Linked DNA regions of Homo sapiens: region 1 is linked to region 2. Evidence: promoter capture Hi-C in 16 types of primary human blood cells and fetal thymus (Javierre and others, 2016). All regions are on one chromosome and are shown on one strand. The core of a region is centred on a gene start or on the middle of the fragment in contact, and the rest is flanking DNA. Distances in the headings are between cores, read along the strand shown.

Region 1 (4,705 bases), core at 2,100-4,599, 3.3 Mb after region 2:
TTGTCAACGCAATGATGGGCCCTCTTCAAGATCTTAACTTATAAGGCAAAATAATGGATTCACAGCTCAGGTAAAACAACAGCAAAAAAATTCCTCAATCACACAAAGAACATTTCCCCATAGTTTAAATTCTCCATTTTGAACCTTGAACCAGTCAGTAAACAATGCTGCTTCTTCCAATTCTAACCAGTTCCTCACTTCCCAAGATTGGCTGAAAATCACCCAACCCAATTCCTTCTTAACTTTCTAAGACTGGGAGATTCCTAAATTTTGCCTATGGCTTTTCTTCTCTTTGGCTACACCAAGCTAAATAAACCTGTCTTTTGGGGACTACAAGCATGTCTCAAATCTCTTGGTGGGCTTCAAAGGATTTTCTTTTTTTCTTTTTTTTTGAGACAGAGTCTCGCTCTGTTGCCTAGGTTGGAGTGCAGTGGCGCAGTCTCAGCTCACTTCAACTGCCTCCCAGGTTCATGCCATTCTCCTGCCTCAGCCTCCCAAGTAGCTGGGACTACAGGCACCCGCCACCACGCCCGGCTAATTCTTTGTATTTTTAGTAGAGACGGGGTTTCACCGTGTTAGCCAGGATGGTCTCAGTCTCCTGACATGGTGATCCGCCCACCTTGGCCTCCCAGAGTGCTGCAATTACAGGCATGAGCCACCACGCCCGGCCCAGGATTTTCTTTTTATTTTCTTTTTTTGAGACAGGGTCTTGCTTTGTTACCCAGGTTGTAGTGCGGTGGTGAGATTAGGTTCACTGAAGCCTTGACCTCTTGGGCTCAAGTGATCCTCCCACTCCAGCCTCCTGAGCAGTTGGGACCACACACATGTACCACCACACCTGGCTAATTTTAAATTTTTTTGCAGAGACAGGGTCTCACTATGTTACCTAGGCTGGTCTTGAACCCCTGGGCTCAAGCATTCCTCCTGCCTCCCAAAGTGCTGGGATTATAAGTGTGAACCACCACCCCCAGCCTGGATTTTCTTGTAAACACATAGTCCAGCTGCCCAGAAAAAAAATAAATTACTATTCCTGTTTAAGTAGGTTTTCTCTTTCAGGGATGCTTTTCTTGATGGCTTGACATGTGATATGGTTTGGATTTGTGTCCTCACCCAAATTCCATGTGGAATTGTAATCCCCAATATTGGGGGAGGGGCCTGGTGGGAGGTGATTGGATCATGGGGGCGGATTTCCCCCTTGCTGTTCTCTAATAATGAGTGAGTTCTCACGAGATCTAGTTGTTAAAAAGTGTGTAGCACCTCCCTGCTTTGCTTTCTTCCTCCTCTGCCCATGTAAAGAGGTTCCTCCTTCCTCTTCACCTTCTGCCACAATTTTAAGTTTCCCAAGGCCTCCCCAGCCATGCTTCCTGTACAGCCTGTGGAACTGTGAGCCAATTAAACCTCTTTCTTTTATAAATTACGCAGTTTCAGGTAGTTCTTTATAGCAGTGCAAGAACGAATACAACATGGTTCTAATTATCCTATATATTTCTTGAATTTTTGAAAAATATGCTTTGAGAAATGTTAGGTAAACATTTTCAGTGGAGATAAAACACTGTAATGTTATCTTTATAGCATACATACCAAAATTTAAACATTACATTCCCCAATTATTAGACATTTAGATATTTTCCAGTTTTTGCTGTTATAAAAAAACCTGTGATGTATCTTCAGGAAAATCCCTGCAACTACAGTTACTGAGTTGTATGGTGTGAGAAGTTTTTGGGTCTAGCCACATACTGCTTGTTTTCCAAGAATTTTACCCATTAACTCCTGCCTCAACTGATTAAATATTAGAGGACACTTTCACCAGCCCACTAGGAAGAGCTTTTAAATACAAGTTTTGCCTACACATTAACGTTTTAAAAATATTTAATTTACACACAGCTTTTGAAGAACTCCCCATGCACGTCTGTCATTCTCAATTGGCTTCCACAAGTCTCAAACTTACTAGGTAGAAAGTAACTAAAGTCATAAAGCACTTGGTGGAAATGCAGGAAATGTCAAATATTAAACAATAATTACTACAGGCTTAGGCAATCAGATGGTAGTTTTGCATACAAACAAAAACAGGAATCTGAGATGTTAAATAATTTGTGTTTTTTTTTTTTTTTTTTTGAGACAGTGTCTTGCTCTGTCACCCAGGCTGCAGTGCAGTGGCATGAATTTGGCTCCCTGCAGCCTGGATCTCAATCTCTCGGCCTCAAGCGATTCTCCTACCTAAACCTCCTGAGTAGCTGGGACTACAGGCAAGGACCACTACGCCTAGCTAATTTTTGTATTTTTTGTAGAGACGAGGTTCCCTCTTATTGCTCAGGCTGGTCTCGAATTCCTGGGTTTAAGTGAACCGCCCGCCTCGGCCTCCCAGAGTGTGAGGACCCGCCTGGCCTAAAATAATGTTATCACTTAATTCTTTTCATAAACTTTATTGACAACGATTGGTGTGTTTTTTTAAAAAACCTTTTTAAATTTTTGGTAAGGTATTACCTGAGAACAGATTAAATGCATAGTTGAATATAAAAGATCTATTTTATAGACTGGTTTATGAGTGTGAACACACAAAAGGTTAAAAGGTCAACCTTACAGCAGTCTATAAATAGATCTCTCATATTCTCTCAGTATATCTGAGAATATTGAAAAAGTGCATTTCAAAATCACTGGCTAGGGTTTAGTGATAGTTAGGTAGACCTCGGTTCCCTTTCCTATTGGGCCCTGGATTTCCCATCCCTATTTTCTTCCTCAGGTGTATTAATACTGGCAGGGCCTGGGAGACTGACGCTAGGGAAGAGGTGTGTAATGTAAGGATACTTCAGATTCTTTCCTGATCCTAGGATTCAGCTAAACCTCCACATAGCCCCTGTCCTCAAAAATGAGTAAATACATAAATTTAAAAATGAAAGGAAAAAAAGAGAAATCCGTTCCCACCACCCACCTTCAGGGCTAAAACAGAAAAATCAATGAGCTGCGCTTCACAACCATACCAAAACCAAACAAATACCAACTCAAACCCTCCTTCACATCCTCCCACATCTTCCCAGTGCTTCGCTATCTCACAGGACCCAGCTGGCCCCTGGCTTCGCCCCACCCACTGCAGCTGGCGTCTTTTAGGCGCATGGTTCTTTTCCTCTCCGGCGAGGGGCGGTCTCGGGGCGGACCCGAACTACAATTCCCAGCATCCTGCGCGGCGCGGGGAAGGAAGCCCGGGAGTGAGAGAAAGCGGCTCCGGGGGCATAGCGGGCCAGTAAGGGCCGCTCCTCCTTTGAAGAGGTTTTGCGTCTCTTTCCGCCGGTGGCGTCGGCGCTCACGCAGGGGCGGGTCCCGGTAGCGCCAGGCGGTGCAGGGCGGGAAGGGGATTCGTGGCGACGGCGGCGGCAGGGACAGCAGGAGCAGTGGTGCTGTCAGCGCGGCCGTCGGAGACATGGGAGACCCGGGGTCGGAGGTGAGTAGTCGAGTGAGGGTCCTGGCGTTCTCAGAGGCGAACCGCGAAGGGTTTGTGTTTTCTGCGGTCTGAGGCCTGGTGCTCCGTCGCAGCCTCGGGGCGATACCTCTTCAGTGTCTTGGGCCGAGCCCAGCTCTGGGGCCTGGTGCGTGTCTGAGCGAGGAACCCGCAGCAACAATGGCCGCCCGGCCCCCCGCACGGGCCCTGGCGTTCGTTGTGGCCGCGGCTGGGCCAGTGGGAGCGACGTTTTAAGGCAGGATTGCCCTTCGGTGTTGAGCTTGCGTTCCTCCTGGAGTAGATAAGGGGAATTGTGAGAGGCTGGTAACTAACGCGTTTTCAGCGTTGGGTCCCTGCAGCTCCGCACACTCTGTGGCAAGAGCCAGAGCTCGAGTTCCGTTCCTAGTCGGGTTTCCGTGAAATTGTGCTCAGTTCGTTTTCCTCAAGAGCTCTCTGTCTTTAATTGTTCCTTTCGGAAACGCTCTCTTCCTACACGAATGTGGCTGAACAGATAAGCATGTTTTGGCTTGTTTTTATAGATAATAGAATCTGTCCCTCCAGCTGGCCCTGAGGCATCTGAGTCAACAACGGATGAAAATGAAGACGACATTCAGTTTGTCAGTGTAAGTAGCAATGATGATTGGGGTTTTCCCAGAGTAAAAGACTATGGTGGGCCATTATGTAATGTTACCTCACCTGGTCATTTAATGTTCATGAGTGTCTAATACATACTAGACACTGGAGCATGGCGCAGGATTGGGAAATTTACCAAAAGAGCTATCTGAGCCACCCCCGTAGCCATCACAAAGAGCACGTCCTAAAGAACGTGCTGTACACTTAATCTCGCCCCCTGCCTTTCATTTAAACTTAAGATAAAAACGCTGGTGTCTAAAACGCTGTTTTGAAATGGAGCAAGAGTAACTTCTAAAGGCGACACGGAGGAAGGAGCTGCTAATGATGAGCAAGGACGTAGAAAACAGGAAGGGTTGTGAGAGCCCAGAATCTTAGCGTTATGGTGCTTCTAACATGAAGGCAAATAGCTTGAAGATTTCTCTAACCTCTGAGATCATCATGTTACGGCATAGTACAGTTGATGCTCATAATGAAGAATCCTACATCACTGGGAACATGCTCTATTTTTCTGAGTTTGTTCCCTTTGAGACAGTAGTTTTCAAGCCTTAGTAAGTATAAACAGGCAGATTCCTGGGCCCCACTGCAGACCTACCGAATCAGAATTTCCAGGCGGGGGCCTAGGAATCTTCATTTTCAGAC
Region 2 (5,145 bases), core at 554-3,053:
GGCGGCGGGGGCGGCGACGGCGACTGGCGGGTGGGAGTGGAGGCACCGGCTGGCGGGCGGGGGTACAGGGACGGGGCAGGGGCTCCCGCTCCAGGTTCCTTGAAGCACTTCCGACCGCGAAGCCCGGCGCGAGAAGCGAGCTAACCCAAGAGCCAACAACGAGCGCGGAGAGGGCAGCGGACTGAGCGGAGCCGCCGGCCAGAGCGGGCTCGGAGCCCGGGTCTCCGCCGCTCGGGACCCGGCTAGGCGGCGGCGGGGGCGGCGATGTTCCACTGCATCCCCCTGTGGCGGTGCAACCGTCATGTGGAGAGCATCGACAAGCGCCACTGCTCGCTGGTCTACGTCCCCGAGGAGATCTACCGCTATGCCCGGAGCCTGGAGGAGCTGCTGCTGGACGCCAACCAGCTCCGCGAGCTGCCCGAGGTAAGGGTCCGGCCTCACCTGAGCGCTCTGCCCGCTCGTCTGCTGTCCCTTCCGCTCCCATCCTCTCTCGTCCCCTCTTCCATCTCCGGGTCCGGCGTGAAGGAACCTTCCCTCTTTTATGCATTCACCTGCTTCTTTCTCCCCCTGTCTCTTTACTTCCATCCTTTCCCAGTAAAAGTTCCTTTTCATTTTATTCAAAGTGACCGGATATTTTGCGCGTAGTCACTGGGGCTCGTGCTATTGGAGAAGCGTTCTGGACTGTTAAGTAACTTAGATCCATGCTAGGTACTGACACCTGGCACTTGTGCCCGGTCAGGTGAGAAGCCGGGTGATTCGGGCTGTTTCCATCTGGAAGCTACAGAGCACTGCATCCTCCCCCCCTCCACTCCCCGGGGTCGTTCCCCCACCAAGGGCCGGGCGCGCCTCTCCTTTAGTCAAGGCATGTCCCGGAGGACCTTGTGACCTGGGCAGCGCTCAAGCGGGCCGCACTATCTCGGCATCTTGGGAGGAATGAGGAATGTGCTCCGTGCTTTATCGCGGGTGGGCTTGGCCGGCTGGCCTGCGGTGGCTGCGGGGGTGGACGCGAGATGGGCGCAGGGGAGAGCTGGGCCTGGAGCGCTAGGGGCAGGTGCCCAGATGCCGGCCGCCCGGGCCTTGCCTACGTGGACCTGTTGCGTGGTGGGAGCTGCGGTGAACGTCAGCGGAGGCTCTGCCCGCGGGCCAGCCTTGCAGCCGCCTTTCCCGGAGCGGGCACAGTCGTCCTGCTGACTTTCTCTCCTTGCAGTGATGCGTTATCTCTTCAGAGTTGTTTATGTAAATTGATCACTCCATTGCCGCCGAACTTGTCAAGCGACATGTGCTGATGGTGCTTTGACCGAGAGTAGGGGTACAGCGAACTTCTTTCAAGCTTGCCTCGGGAACTTAGCTAGAGTAACCCCTCGGGGAAGGTGTCTCAAACCCAGGTGTGTGCAGGAAGTCGGTGTGCAATAATCCAAAGGTGTGCAGGAAGTAGGGAGACTGCTGGCAGTCGGGGATTGGACCTGTTTTAGGCCTGAGCTTTGGAACGCAAACTTCTTGTTGCCCTTTAGTTAACACAAGCCAAATCATTGTCACAGAAACACTAGTCAAGTGTTCTGACTTGTTAGAATGACCTGATACGTTCTCCAGCGCTGATGGAGCATTTAAACAATAAGAACTGTGTGTTTTTCTCAATATTTTAAGTGGTGGTGTTCTTCTTGGATTAACTTTCCTGGGTTCATGTGGAATTGATTGGATGTTTGCTCTGTGTAATCATGGAGATTATCCTCACTAGGACCTTTGCAAAGCCCCCCAGGCTTTATTTAGCTTAGAAGCAGCAAAGCCATCAAGTTCCCTCAGGCGTTTATTATTTCGCAGGCATTTTCAAACACATGATTTTTTTCTGGCCTTTTACGTCCTTGAAGATTTCTTACCAGTCGTCAGCTCCCTCACTGCTTTAAGTTGTGTAATTTTAGGCAGTGATATCACCAGGAATATAGAATATGTAATTTAATAGTTTTCAGGGGCTTCAGGATGACATTATTGAAGATGGAGTGAAAAGTTATTCACTAGAAATGATTCATTGCTCTTTGTGGTATTTGTTTTTTTGTTTTCTTTTGTAGAACTGGAAGATTTCCTTTGACTGGATTGGCTTTTCACTCCCTTCTGCAGGGTTTGTGGGTTTTCCTGTAATGTTGGGGAATTCAGCTTGGCATGGGAAATTACATAATTTCCCATGCCAAGCCGAAATGTCAGGTCTTTCTGTGATCCTAAATGGAAACTTGTCAGAATCTCAAAATATAGTCTGATGGCACTCTGTAAATATGGTAAATAAACAAGCTTTTCAAAGGTTACAGGTGATCTTGCTAATGGATTATTATTGCTCTAACAGCTGTTAAATTAGTATTAAAGTTTTTAGGTTGTGTAAAATCTACTTCTCCCTGACTTATTGTGTGTCTTGGTGCCTGGGTGTGTACATGCCAGACATGAGAACCACCTTGCAAACATAGATATCTGTTCCATCCCTTCCATTCTTTCCTTGGGCTATCTGTTGTCTCACCTCTGAGATCTGTATAACTTATTACCACTGGTCTCTGCTGCTCCTGCTCCAAACCCCTGTCTCCTTACCTGCCACACACAAGCGCATCTGTTTTGTTCACAAGCCTCAAAGGTCCTTATTTTGGTGGCCATACCAGCTGTATGTTCTCCTCTCTATAATTTGTTTGGAAGCACAGCTTAAGGGGAAGCCGGTACCCCTTACCAGGGCAGCAAAGATGCACTCTCCAGGTTTCAGTGTAATAACAGCCACCTTCTTTCCACTGAAAGGCCTGCAACTTCTGGTTTGCGCCAATATCTTCCTTTTACAAATTCAGATTCAGAATTGAGGTGACTTTCTCAGGGCTGTCCAGTGAGTTAGATGCAGTTGCTGGTGGGTCTTGTTCATTCAGATGTCAGCCAAATACAATTGCTTTGGACACCTAGCAGGAATCTTCTATCCTGCTTCTCACACCCATCAAATCTTTATTTAGTCTCTCCTGTTTTACTCATGTCATTATAACTTAGCCTTAGCCAAGCATTTATTGAGACTCCATTATTTACAAGTTATTGGGAATATAGAGATTAAAGGAGGCATGATTCACATCTTTGGGAGGAAGCAGATGATTTTAATCCAGATGTAGTTAGTGTGGGATGGAAAGGACACCACGGTTAAACTACTCCTAAGCTATGGACTTGATGGTTACTTCCCTAATCTTTTAACCTTTTGCATCAGATCCCTCATCTTCAGTTTGGTTGCAGTTGGGTGATAGCCTCACCATCCTTTTTGCATCCACCTACTTCTCCCCCATACCCGCAGTTTGATCCTTTTTGGCTCTGTGCTAACAAAGGCAGTCTCACTGTAACCTTCTTGAGATGTCTGTGTGTTTTTGCTTACCTTTGTTTATTTTTTATTTATTTATTTTTTGAGACGGAGTCTCACTCTTGTTGCCTAGGCTGGAGTGCAGTGGCACGATCTCCACTCACTGCAAGCTCCTCCTTCTGGGTTCACACCATTCTCCTGCCTCAGCCTCTCGAGTAGCTGGGACTACAGGTGCCCACCACCACACCCAGCTAATTTTTTAGTATTTTTAGTAGAGACAGGGTTTCACCATGTTAGCCAGGATGGTCTCGATCTCCTGACCTCATGACCCACCCGCCTTAGCCTCCCAAAGTGCTGGGATTACAGGCGTGAGCCACCATGCCCGGCCTTACCTTTGTTCAGCACAGAATCTCATCCTTGTGACACCCAATAGGTCTTGCTCAATAAACAGTTATTTATCTGTTGAATGAATGTTGCCGAATCTTATAAAAATCTTCCTCCCTCTGCTTCTTTCTTTTCCCTTAAGCATATCACTGCTCCAGCATCTATCCTTTTCTAATATAGTCAGAATATTCAAGTTGGAAGCAACTTCAGAAGAAAAGGTCATTCATAGGGTGACACTGTTTTGTCCTACTTGCCCTGCAGGAACCTTGGCTTCCCCTCTGTACTTCCTCAGCCTTTCACATGCCATTGGTTTTCTCCTCAGTGTGCACCAGTTCTCAGATACCTTCAAATGCGTGTGTTTTCCTGTAATCTCCAGCACCAATATAGCGCTTCATGTAGTAGTAGGCAGCACATATTTTAAATGAATATACTAAAGGCTTCATAGCTTTAAAAATTTGAATTTCACCTTGCCACCTCCTCTTAAGAGTTCAGTTGATTTTTGTTGATTGCCAGATGGCATTATCTCAAATGCCTGCCCCCTACATCATTCTTTCTCATATTCTGCTTTATTTTTTCCTGTCCTTTAGAGCATATATCATTACCTAACTCCAGACCATATATTTGCTTTCTTGTTCTTTGTCTCTCTCCCTAACTAAAACATAACCTCCATGAGTGCAGAGGTCTTCACGGCTGGACCTAGGACAGTATTTAGTACATAGTGGGCACAAAGATGTGTCAGTGAGTCCTAACATGGGTAGATGGGCCCTGTTTCTTAGCCGTCATAATTCCCCTTCCTATGGTCAGACTTTTGTACACCAATCTGGTGAAGCTATTGTTGACACAAAGTCTTCTTTCAGAATCCGGTGTCCTTGTCTTGCCAGTTTTTGTTTTCCATCTCTTCTGTGCTGGACACCTTTGATTGCCTTATCTTTGAAAGAATCTTCATGCATTGTAAACATATTTTCTATGAACATGACTTAAAGTTTAATATATCCAGCTGTGATCTGTTAAGGGAATATCCATCTCCACTTGTGGTAAGTCCCTTTTGCCTTAAACCAACCATGTTTTAATTTAGGTTTCATATTGCAAACTGACTGCTTTTCCCAGAAGTTCTGTTTCTAGGGGGCAGGGCAGCTATTCTTTCCATCTCAAAGGTCCAAGGACTTACCTCTGATCCTTCCTTCTTCTCTCCATTTTGTTGCCAAGTCCTGCCATTTCTGTTTTCACAATGCCACCTATTCTCTCTCAGTCCCTCACTCCCATCTGGTAGGCTTCATCTGGATTTATGTTGTGCGTTGCTGGTTGTCTTCTGCTGAGGCTCTTTAGGGCTGGTCTTGAAAGGGCAGAGAGCAGAGGTACTGGATTCAGATAGTTCAAAATGCTGCCCCAACACTTGGAGACTCTGTTCAAGCCTCTGTTTCCTTGGGTGTTACCTACTTTATAGGGTTATAGAGTTATTAAAG

The links. The method cuts DNA at HindIII sites, captures the fragments that hold promoters and counts their contacts. A CHiCAGO score of 5 or more calls a contact.
Region 1: the fragment with the promoter of ZNF451 here is called in contact with a fragment that was not itself captured in region 2 in 1 of 17 cell types (naive CD8 T cells); the score reaches 5.9 in naive CD8 T cells.

What each region holds. Positions count from the first base shown.
Region 1 is chr6:57,086,839-57,091,543 of GRCh38, forward strand. ZNF451 (zinc finger protein 451) reads left to right here and starts at 3,350. Exons shown (of 15, transcript NM_001031623.3): 1 at 3,350-3,436; 2 at 3,973-4,056. The coding sequence starts at 3,416. RefSeq lists enhancers at 3,019-3,168, 3,036-3,918 and a silencer at 3,339-3,408. The HindIII fragment of the contact is 8,135 bases long and covers 1-4,705 here.
Region 2 is chr6:53,794,993-53,800,137 of GRCh38, forward strand. It overlaps LRRC1 (leucine rich repeat containing 1), which reads left to right and starts at 13. Exons shown (of 14, transcript NM_018214.5): 1 at 13-423. The coding sequence starts at 265. RefSeq lists a silencer at 1-118 and an enhancer at 85-797. The HindIII fragment of the contact is 950 bases long and covers 1,329-2,278 here.